Linked DNA regions of Homo sapiens: region 1 is linked to region 2. Evidence: promoter capture Hi-C in 16 types of primary human blood cells and fetal thymus (Javierre and others, 2016). All regions are on one chromosome and are shown on one strand. The core of a region is centred on a gene start or on the middle of the fragment in contact, and the rest is flanking DNA. Distances in the headings are between cores, read along the strand shown. Region 1 overlaps SEMA3D (semaphorin 3D). Region 2 holds the start of SEMA3D (semaphorin 3D).

Region 1 (5,504 bases), core at 2,682-5,181, 140 kb after region 2:
GGTGGGGAAAAGATTTTGGCAATAGAGAAACATTATATAAAAATGGGTAAAGGATTATTCTCACAACAAGTGTGAATCTTTTCACTTTTATAACTCTTTTGTTTATTATTTTATTATCTAATTATTTCAACAACAGCAACAAAATATGAAATAATTTCTGCGCAAAATGCACTATACTAGACAATTAGTGTAGATAATCAACCACTGTCCCTTTTCTTTCAAAGCTTTTAGTATAGTGAGGGCAATAGATATATCAACAAATAATCATAATGTGATGTGATAGAGTTATGAGCTAAGAACTCTAGGGATTTGGTGAAGCCCAAAAACATTGTATGAAGGAAGTGGTGCTTTAGTTGAGTTCTATGAGGAAGTGGGACTACGCTAAGGAATGGAGGCCAGGCATTTCAGGCAGCGTTGTGACAGTTGTTTTTTGTTTGTTTGTTTTTCGTTTTTATTTTTGTTTTGGTTTTGGTTTTAGTTTTGGTTTTAGTTTTTGTTTATAGAACAGTGAAATCTTGTTGTAACTGGAATTCAAGGGATGTGTCTGGGGAGCAATGACTTTTGAGATTAGAGTGGTAAGTTGGTTGATAAGAAGTTTTGTTTCCATGTTAGTCAGTGTGAACTCTATCCTGTAGTCAATGAGGGATTATAAAATGTTTTAAGCAGAGAAGTGACAAGATAGGTAAATATAGTTAGCAGCAATTTGAAGAATGTATCTGGATCGAGAAATATTTGTGACTGGGAGACCTGTTAGGTTGTTCCCTAAAGATAACAGGAACAAAGAGATAAGCACTAAGAGTAAGTTCAAGAGATAGTTCAGATAGAAAGTATATGTAGGTGTATATGTAGATTTCTATAAAGTCCTCACTTTATTACTGCTCTTTTATTGTTTGCCTGGTATACATAGGGCTGACCAATAGAGCACTCTTATAATGACGGTAATATTCTACACCTGCACTATCCAATACAATCGCCATGTAGATGTTAGTGTTCAAATATGACTGGCATGACTCATGAGCTAAATTTTTAATGCATTTTAATTCTCTTGCTCCTATCATAGAGATTTTGATACCTACCCTGTAGACAAGTACCCTTTTATCCTTGGTAATTGTGATTCCTGGAAGATACAACATGGACCAGGAACATGTGCAAAGAGATATATTTTGATATGAGATGGTAAATAACAAAAAAAATTATGAGCACAGATTTTTATATTTGGATATGAAGAACTTGATGTGGTTCTGAGATATGGGGGCACAATAGCCAGTTGAAAATATAACCTGAGGCTCAGTAGTCTCTGGACTCATAAATTTGAAAATCAGCAGTACACTGGCAGATCTTGAAGTTATGGAAGTGCCTGACATTACTCAGGAAGATTTGTAGTGCAAGATCAAAGGGCAAGGATAGAATCCAATGGGACAATGACATTTAGGAAATAGAAGAGAAAAGTGTCTGCAGAGGCAATTGAGAGGAAATGGTGTCATTGCTGAGTGGGAAAACTGGAGAAGAGTGTTGTCACAAGTCAGGGGAAAAGATTGCTTCAAGAAGAAAGCAGTTGTCAAAAATGTCGCTTATCAAAAAGAGGTCAGGTAAGATTATGATTAAAGACTAGGTATTAGATTTTGCAGTAATGATATCATCAATGACTTTTGCCTGGATGATGTGAATGTTCAACTTAAAATCAGATCTAGGCTTACATTTTGCTCTACTTCCCATTCTCTCAGTTTCTTAACCTAAAAAATGAGGACAGCAGGCACCTATTGCTTCCATAACTATTTTACCAAGCAAATGTAAGGCTTTAATAAGATCATATGAATTTGGATGTGACAGATAACTGAGGAAGGTGCCAAAAACAAGGGTAACTTAGATATCTAAGTTTACAAGCATGTAACAATTTACTATAAGAGATTGACATGTAAATAATGTAAATATCTGGTCACACTACAGTGAATTTAATCCCAAAAATCACACATATGCACACATGCATGTGCACACATACACACACATCACACATACATTTGGAGCCAGATCAGCGTACCTGTGCTTAGGAATGGAAGAAGTTGGTGTTGATGGTAGTGGTGCGTGTATTTTGCAGTGTTAGGGGCAGGTTAGTTACCAAAGGTGATCAAAGAGATATGTCATTTTATTAGTTTTAAAGGCTGAAGTTACATTATTATTTTTCTTTATCTTTAGGAGAATTTGTGCTTTGAAGATTGATCTTATTTCTGAACATAGTCAAAGTAATTTGGAGCTGTATTTGGAGAAAGTTGCATAAATGATTTGAACAATGCAAATTTTGGTCAAGAGATATCAATGAAGAGAGACACAATAAATAAACTGACTTAAAAGATAATTTTACTGGGCAATATTGATCAATGAGAGCCTGAGGCGAATAAGTGCCTTCATCCACAGAATATCTTTTAAACTTAATATGTTTATAATTATACATGGTAGAGCACATTTCCTAATGAATTATTTTTAGTAGTGTTCCTACTTTCCAGTCAAACTACTTACTCTATTTTTCCAATAAATTGTTTAACCTTGAAGGATTTCTAAAGTCCTTGTCAAGCTCTACAGTTCTTTCATTTTGTGAAACAGTTAATATCTTGAAGCACGAAATGGTGCAACTTACACCCCAAAGAACTGCTCTCGTAGATGGTAAATAACACAGATCTTCTTGATGAGCTATTAAATGCTAATTGAATGAATAGGCAAAACCACATGAAATAAACCCACTGAAAAGATTTGTGTCTATTTACTTTGCAAGTTAGTACTTTCAAAATACATTATTTATGTCTGTCTGATGTTTATTACTCTGTCTCTGTGTGTGTGTGTGTGTGTGTGTGTGTGTGTGTGTGTGTGTGTGTGTGTTTCCCTTCAAGACCCACCTTTTAAGTCAATGGGTGGAAATACTAGTTCTTTCGGTGAGACTTGCTTGCAATTTTTCACCTCAAGGCTGTTTTGCATTACTTTTGAATTCTATTCATTTTTGGAAGAGCTGCCCATTATACTTATGCAAGTCTACTCCAGATTCCAGCTGTAGGTTATGCCAGTTCTCTTTTTTGTTTTGCAGTATTTCCTTTCCCCATGCCAGGAATTCAGTTTGGATGGCCCTTTCACATAACTTGCCTGGGGGTCTCATTAATAGCCCTTTGCTTCAATTCCACTTGCATTGTCTATTTTGATATATGGTCCTATTTGGACAATTACTGCCTTTGAAGATTTGTGTTTTTAGGCCGATGACACTTTCCGTATTTATTGATCTCTGTTGAGCTGTGGTTTTTGTGCTTACTTTCAGCATGTCACTTACAACCTAAATGAGAGATTTAGTGCCCACGAGTTACAGATGTGCTTTTGCTTCACTTCCATCTGTTTTCCTGTCTGAGAAATTCCTAGGAAGGGGTTTATACTGTTTGCTACAGCTTTTTTTTTTTAATTGAATGAACTCTGATTCTACCTGAAAAGGACTGCTTAACATTCCTAGATTTACCTAACTGAATGTGCTAAATCTTAGAAACTGAGTTGTTCAGGATAGTGTATTACACCAGTCCTGTATTTCCAATAATTTTTATGAGTTTCTGAAGTAGTTAGAAAAACATGTTCTCCACTTCTATTTGCTTAGTCATTAACGGCAAATCACAAATAGTCGTCTCTAAATACTAGGTGTATTTTTCAGAAAAAAAAAATTGCCTTGAAAGCCTCTATAGAATTTATCCCTTAAAAGTTAGTGTGTTTAATAGCTGCCACAAAAGTTTTTGTTGTTCTTTTTTTTTCTCCTCTATCCTTTGCCTTAGATGTTTGAGTTTGTATATTTTTATTTCATCTAAAGTATTTCAAGATTATTAGTAGGTGAGGTAAAGGACTCTATGTTATTATATGTCAAGAATTTTGGGGGGAATCCTAAGTATCAGAAGTGGGAAAAAAAAACTTTTGAAAACAGTAAAGAGCAAGTGCCAATAGACCTTCCTCTGGTAAAGAGAAACGGTATCCATAAATTTCTCTTTATGTTAAAAAATGCTTATAATTTAAGTTGCCAAAGAAAGTAAGTGAAGAGATATTTGTTTCTACATGTTATATTTCTACATGTTCTATGTTACACAGTTGTTTCTACATTTGTTTCTACAACTTAACTTACCGGAGTTGACTGCCAAATATGGTTATGTGAAAACTCTCAACCGTATTTTTAAAATTCATATTATTATTTTTGCCTTCATTTTTTAGTGGTCAGATCCTTTTTTAAAAATCCCAATGAACCAGGTACATGAAACATAGTTATGGCATTGCAAGTATTGCAAAAGAAAACCCACAGGCTAAAAAGGGTAGTTCAACAAAGTTTGTTTCATTTGATTTAATGAGCATAACTTCACTATCTTCCATTAGTTCACTTAATGTATCAAAACATACTCATTTAAGATCTTCACAATATAGTAATATAGTTCAATATAAGGCATACACTTCTAATGAGTCTCTTGGGGGCTTATGCCAGGTTTCACTTTTTGTTTCTACCATGTCATGGTCATAGTTTCAAACTTCTGAATAGACCACCCTGAGTTTGGATTGTCCTTATCATTATTATTTATTTATACAGCCCCATGCAGATCATTTGTACTAAGTTTTCAAAGAAAGATTCTAAAATCTGTTTCTAGAAATAACCCACTGAAGATTGAGACAACACAGATAGATGTAGATTGGACAGTTGCTGTGGGATCTATTATAAATGACAAATCAAGCAAAGAATATGAATGATGGATTGAAATATAACAGGCATTAAATCAAAAAGACAAAAGTATTAAATTTCCCTAATCTTATTTGTTGAATTTGTAAAAATGGCCAACAGAAAGCCTGTGTGTTTGCCTCAGTGTTAGTTTGGGTAATGGAATAGGTTTTTCTTAATTTATAATACTGTAGTATTTATATCACACTTCAAAAGAAGGTGAGTAGTATTAATTCAAACTAAAATCTATAAGCATAAGTGTTATTAATGGGTAGAACAGGGAGTGGGGCACACAAAGAATGCATATATCATGGTTTCAAAGTGTCTGAGAATTTCATTCTCTTGCTTGCACAAAGATACAGAAGAGCAGTATTAGGCAAAATAACTAAATTTTAAGCAGAGAATAATTTATAACCTCTAACTCCAGCATCAACTATTTTTTAAAGTTCTTAAACTTTGTCATTATCCAGTTTCTATTGATTTGAAACTGGTGTCCTTCAACTTAAACTCATGAATAGGGTTACAAATCTCTGCACACAAATTAGTAGCTTAACAAAATACTTGTTTTCAAATGTCTTGGAGAGTAAACTGATTTTACAAAATCTTCAGGATTTAAGAGCATAGGAGCCGAAAGTCAATTATTACATTTTCCAAAAGCCACTGTTATCTAATATATAGGTTAAAATGACAATGTTTATAAAGTACTGAGGGATCCTTGAAGAGGATGGTATATACAGATAAAATCACGTTTAACAGAGGAACCCAGCATAGTGACCCAAAGTTCAAAAGG
Region 2 (5,464 bases), core at 920-3,419:
TTCAGGGAAGCAGCCTGAAGATTACGGAGCCATGGACACAGCTGAGGCCATTCATCACATTGGGCAACATATTAACAGTTGATTCCATCTGCTTTGTGCTCAGAGTCATTAAAAGGAAGGAAAGCACAGAATTCACGTTCCAGATGTTGTTTTCTCATGATATGTTCAGGATACTCTGGTAAATTCTGTCTAAATTTGAAGTCTGAGCATCTCAAACTAAATCAGTACAATACAATGTCACAGGCATTGTATTAGAGGCTGAAGAAACAAAGACACAAAACAGCCAACACTTTTGTATGGGATGCAGACACATGCATAACTAATTATAATATAAAGTGAAAAGAGCTTATTATAGTAGTGAAATCAAAGTGCTTTGGGAAAACAGGAGGGAGTGATTAATTCTGTAAGGGCTTTATGGAAAGTATTGAATGGTAGCAAAGGAAGGTGTCATTTGGTTTAAGCATATTAAGCTACAACTTAAAAGAGAAAGGAGGAAAATGGGAAATCCAAAGTTAACCACAATTCTAGTTAAACACAAAATTCTGGCCAATAAACTGACAAAATTATTTAAAAGTTTAAAAATAGAGATTTTCTAAAAATCAAAAACTACTTACTATAAACCCACCATATACGGGAGAAAAAAAGAGATATTTTATTTGCACAATGACATTGCAATTTGCATGGAAGTGCAATGACATATACAAATGAAAATAATATAAACACATAGAAACATACAATAAACAATTGCATGACTATGTACAGAATGAGTGGTATAACATTAAATATAAAGCATTCAGAAAAAAAATAAAAGTTGCTATAGTTTGAAATAGTCTACGAGGATTTAAAATTTTTTTCTCTATCCAAAGAGGGTATTTATGGGGTTGATTGGTTGTGAGTCCAAACCAAGGTTATAGAGATGGGGCAGCATGAGACACAAGAAAGAGCCTTGGTCAGATTTGAGAAACCTGAGCCTTTCCTTAGCCTGACTCTGCCATCAACCATTTATAACTTAAAATGACTCCTTTAGCTTCTGTGGCCCTCAGCCCTCTGCCACAGATAAAAGGTCAAATGAAGAATGTCTTCCACCCCTTTCAGTTATTCCATTACTGCATTTGTCTGTTCACCATCTCCAAATCAAGATATCTCTTGTTACTTGCTAAGGAAGCTTTGGGACCCTACACCTTGTGCTCTTAAATCAAGCTGACAAATGCAGGATCCCGTGGCTGCTTGCTTTCCATGTCTCTACCTCATGTCAGATTTATGTTTGGGACTAAGGGCAAGGTGTGTGACTATAAACCTGGATATCCCATCACAAAGGATTTACCATGCAGCTAAAAATGCCTAACGTACAGGGCTCACCAAATGCACAGGCCTTTTTAATGTCCCTGACGGTGGCCTCATGAACTCTCATTGTCATATATTTTTGCAGAATCTGTAGAAGTGAGATATTTCTGCATTACTTTTGCTTAAAGAGGATCCTCTATTCCAATTGCATAGGATCCAGGTTCATCAAAACTTAGATCTTCTCGTCATTATATACTTCTAAGTTCCTACTGTGTGAATAAGGGGTGCAAAAATCTAAAAAACTCCCGAAGACAAGGATATGAGGCACACCTCTTTGTAGGTCTGGCGTAAGGGAAAGAGGAAGAAAGGATTACATTCTACTCGTTTTTATCTCTCCCTGTTTGGTCTTAATCGGGTGCCAGCCCCTTAACGGAGGGTTGATCCCTGTTCCTCATCCCTATGCCTGCCTTGTCAAGGCCATTAACCGTGGATTGAGGTTTTACATAGTGGAACGCAGGTACTGTTTTGTGGGATTAGCATTTTTAGGACGGTGTTTGTGGTCACTCTCCCTGTTTCTTCCTCATGGGGTCCCTTAACAGGTTTTATGGTATAGAGAAGGAACTAAAGAAGTCCCCAAGTCACCCAGAAGGAAGATCAGACGTTAGAGGTTGCTTTACACATAGGGTGCCCTGTCCTGATAAACATCCGTCAGCGCTTGGCCAGGGCTACCTCTAAATCCACGCTGCTGGCAGCCTCCGCGCAGCAGGGATGAACTTCTGCACGCTTGGGAGTTCTGGCGTGCGCAGTGGAAGGAGGGGGCGAGGGCTGGGGGAGGAGATCGGAAGGGGAAAGGTAATCCCCGGCGTTTTCAGCATCCTCTTTTTAGAAAGACTGAGTCTCTCCCAGGACAGCTGCTGCGGTCACACCACAAACTTAAAAGCCGCCCTCCTGTTTGGAGCGTGCCTTTCCTCGCCACCCTCTCCTCCCCAAAGCTCCAGCTGGTGCCTTGCTCTCCGCCTGTCCTAGCGCGGCTCTCGGGGGAGGCAGCAGCGCCCCCTGCCTCCCGGCCTGGCCCCTGCGGCCGCAGCTTCCCGGCTCTGCCAGGGCTGCCGGCGGCTCCGCTTGCTCAGCCAGGGCTGCGGCTCAGAGGAACGCGCGCCGGTGCCCCGGGTTGCCGCGCCGCTGGACCTCAGCCTGCATCCCGTTCCCCTCTCCCTGAAAAGGCACCAGGAAAAGAGAGAGGGAGAGAAGAGTTCACAGCAGGTAAGTCTGGTTTGGGTCACCTGCTACTCCAGTGGGAGGGTGTGCTGGAGACCGCGGTGCTAAGCGGGGATAGCCGGGATTTGGGGGTGGCTGTGGGTCCGAAGTGGAGGACGAGCATGGTTTGGGAGATAAGGAACCGTCCTGAGACAGAGAAGGCTCCCGGGAGCGGACAGAGAGTGGGCGAAATCGGTGCGCAGTAATCGCGGCGCCAGCTTCAGCGCGGCCCCTGGGGCGCAGTCCCACCCCGCCTCAGCAGCTGCGGAGCCTTCTGACGAGCCTCCGCCTGGCAGCACTGCACAAAGTTTTCCTCCTGAGACGCGTCCAGGAACTTTGCTCTCTCCCTGGCTTCCTGGTTCCCCCACCACCCCTCCTGGTCTGGGCAGCAGAGAGCGTCTATGAATGTGTCCCCGGCTTCCGCAGGCTGCAGGTTCATTTGGAGACGCTTTAGTCGGGAACATCCGGGGAGTACTTGACCAAAGGGCATCTGCGCCCTCGCTCGCTCCTTTCCTTGTTGGTCTGGGAGAAGGGAAAGGGGCAAGGAAGAAGGAAGGGAAGCGTGGTGGTTTTTGTTGTAGCGTTTTGGAAGAGGAATGGGCGACGCCTTTTTCTTCGCCGGGGAATCGCGACGTTCCGTCTGATGGAAGTGTGCATCCTTTTAGATTTAGAGGGAAAGTTGGAGTCAAACAGCAGCCACAAAGCTGGCTGTCTGAAATGTGGTTAAGGCAAAACACTCGGGGGATCTCTTTGTAGTAGTGGGCTTGGCTCGCTTTGGAAAGGCCGGATTTGACTCGTGCTGGGCATTTAACCAGGAGTGCGGTCCCCAGGGTGTTTCCTCCCGGCTTCTGCCCAACGAGCCTGGAGTTAATGCGTTAATGGGCTACCCTGGTAGCGCACGGGCCGTTTTCGGCACTGTTTCTCCTTCTCTGATGACTCGAGTTCAACCTCCTGGGCTGAGTTGCTTTGCCTCCGTCACAGTGCAAGGAGGGAAGTTGACAGGAGGAGGAGACGCCGCGCTGTGGCAGGGAGCTTTGGGATCCAGGGGACTGGAAGAGAGCCGCGCGCCAGCAGCTGGGGCCGCTGGTGTCCGGGATTCCGAGTTATGGGGACAGGAGTTAAATAGCCGAACTTTCAGCGATTTCGCCTCGAGCGAAGCGGTAATAAAAGGCAAGCTTCTGTGCGTGGACTCTTATTTCATCACCAAAACCCCACCACTTTCCGTTTAGCTTAGTGCTATTTGCACAAGCAAAAGAAGAGGGGAGAAGACCTAAACTTTCCGGTTTAGCCTAAAAAGGGTTCTCCTGCATGTGTGCGCTAGCGGGGGATGGCGGGGTGGGGGCGCGCAGAGACGAGGGGGAGGATCTCCTAACAGAGAGGGAAGGGTTGAGGCGGAGGTAGAGGAGAGGTCTGAGACATCTCCTGGGTCTGGTGCTGCTGCTATTGTGTAACCATGGCAACCGCGGGGGCAGGGGTGGTCAGAGCCTTCCCAGTTCTGCACGTGGAAAGAAAAATGTGAAGGGCAGAGAAGGGAGAGAGCCACATGTCATCACTCCAGTGATGCCTTGCCTTCTCCTTTTTGTTCTCCTTTTCCTTCTCCTTTTCCTTCTCCTTTTCCTTCTTCTCTGAGGCCAGATAGCAAGGAGGATGAGCAAGAAGACACACATGTCATCACTCCAATGATGCCCTCCCTTCTCCTTTTCCTTCTCCGAGGCCAGACAGCAAGGAGGATGAGCAAGAAGATCGGGGTTGGGAGTGATCAGCCCCAGCTGGCCACTGCTTTAACCCAGTCGGGTCTTAGAGTCTCTGAGACTCGCCCCAGCGGATAAGACGGGTCAGGGGTGCCATCGCTGACAGGCGCAAAGTGATGGCCCTGGTCAGGGAGATGGGCAATGACCTTGGCTCTTGGAAGGGAAAGGCCAGGAAATACAGGAAGGTGATGTGGGACGAGATAAGAGTAGGGTCAAGGGCTGACAGACAGTAAAACAGTACTGATTCGAATTGCCAAAATTTCCAATGGAATTTGCCCAATTGTGAAATGGAAAGTTCCTAGAGAAGGGAAGAAACATTTATCAAACACCTATTGTGTTTCAGGTGCTGTGAACTTTATCACAATTAATATCCTCAACAATATGATACAAGTGTCATTATTCTCTTATTCTTTTCTTTTTGAACAGAAAAGAAAAAAAAAACAAAGACATAAAGATTTATAAATGGGTATTGTCCCATTTTGGCTTTTATGTTCTTAATGAAGAACCGTAATTCTTAAAAAAAAATTGTATTGCTGGGGGAATAAGCTAGGTAGTTATTATTTTAGAGATGATAATAAATGAGATGCAAAAATGTTGCTTGATGTGCCCAAATATAAGCTAGTAAGGGCACGAACTGAGATACGAACTGTTTTACCTGGGTGTGGGTCTCCTTTCAGAAACTTCAAGAAAGTTGTCATGACCCCACTTAATGGGAGGGCTTTCTAAGGTCAGTTATGATGCTGTATCTGTATCTGTTATCATTTACATGTGGAGAACACTCAAAATTTTAAATGCAATTCATGGTTGAGAATGAGAATGAACCACATCAAATCGATAAGCCCAGAATCGTATGTATGTGATATTAATGATCTATTCATACCTACAGGTTTCATTTTCCTTTGTAGGAATTATTAGTTTCTTTAACAATGTCCGTAAAGGAAAAAAAAAAGAAAAAGAATTTATCAAACAGAAATCCCATGGTTGTATTAAGAACATTTCCTGAGATTAGTTAGGTTTTCCTCAGTCTACTTATTGTCCTCATGACCTGAATACCTAAAAATTTACTTCGTATTTCAGTACCATTGGTTCACTTTTGTAGTTCACTCTGGTTACTTTCCTGTTGATGTTCTGAGATGGGAGGTTAAGAAAAAGTATCTGGCAATGTAAAATGT

What was found. The method cuts DNA at HindIII sites, captures the fragments that hold promoters and counts their contacts. A CHiCAGO score of 5 or more calls a contact.
Region 1: a fragment that was not itself captured here is called in contact with the fragment with the promoter of SEMA3D in region 2 in 3 of 17 cell types (naive B cells, total B cells and megakaryocytes); the score reaches 8.9 in naive B cells.

What each region holds. Positions count from the first base shown.
Region 1 is chr7:85,047,440-85,052,943 of GRCh38, reverse strand. The region is part of intron 9 of SEMA3D (semaphorin 3D); the gene reads left to right. Among named protein-coding and RNA genes, the nearest start is that of SEMA3D, 140 kb to the left of the region's middle. The HindIII fragment of the contact is 7,409 bases long and covers 227-5,504 here.
Region 2 is chr7:85,183,761-85,189,224 of GRCh38, reverse strand. SEMA3D (semaphorin 3D) reads left to right here and starts at 2,169. Exons shown (of 19, transcript NM_001384900.1): 1 at 2,169-2,547. RefSeq lists a silencer at 2,298-2,357. The HindIII fragment of the contact is 2,551 bases long and covers 1,168-3,718 here.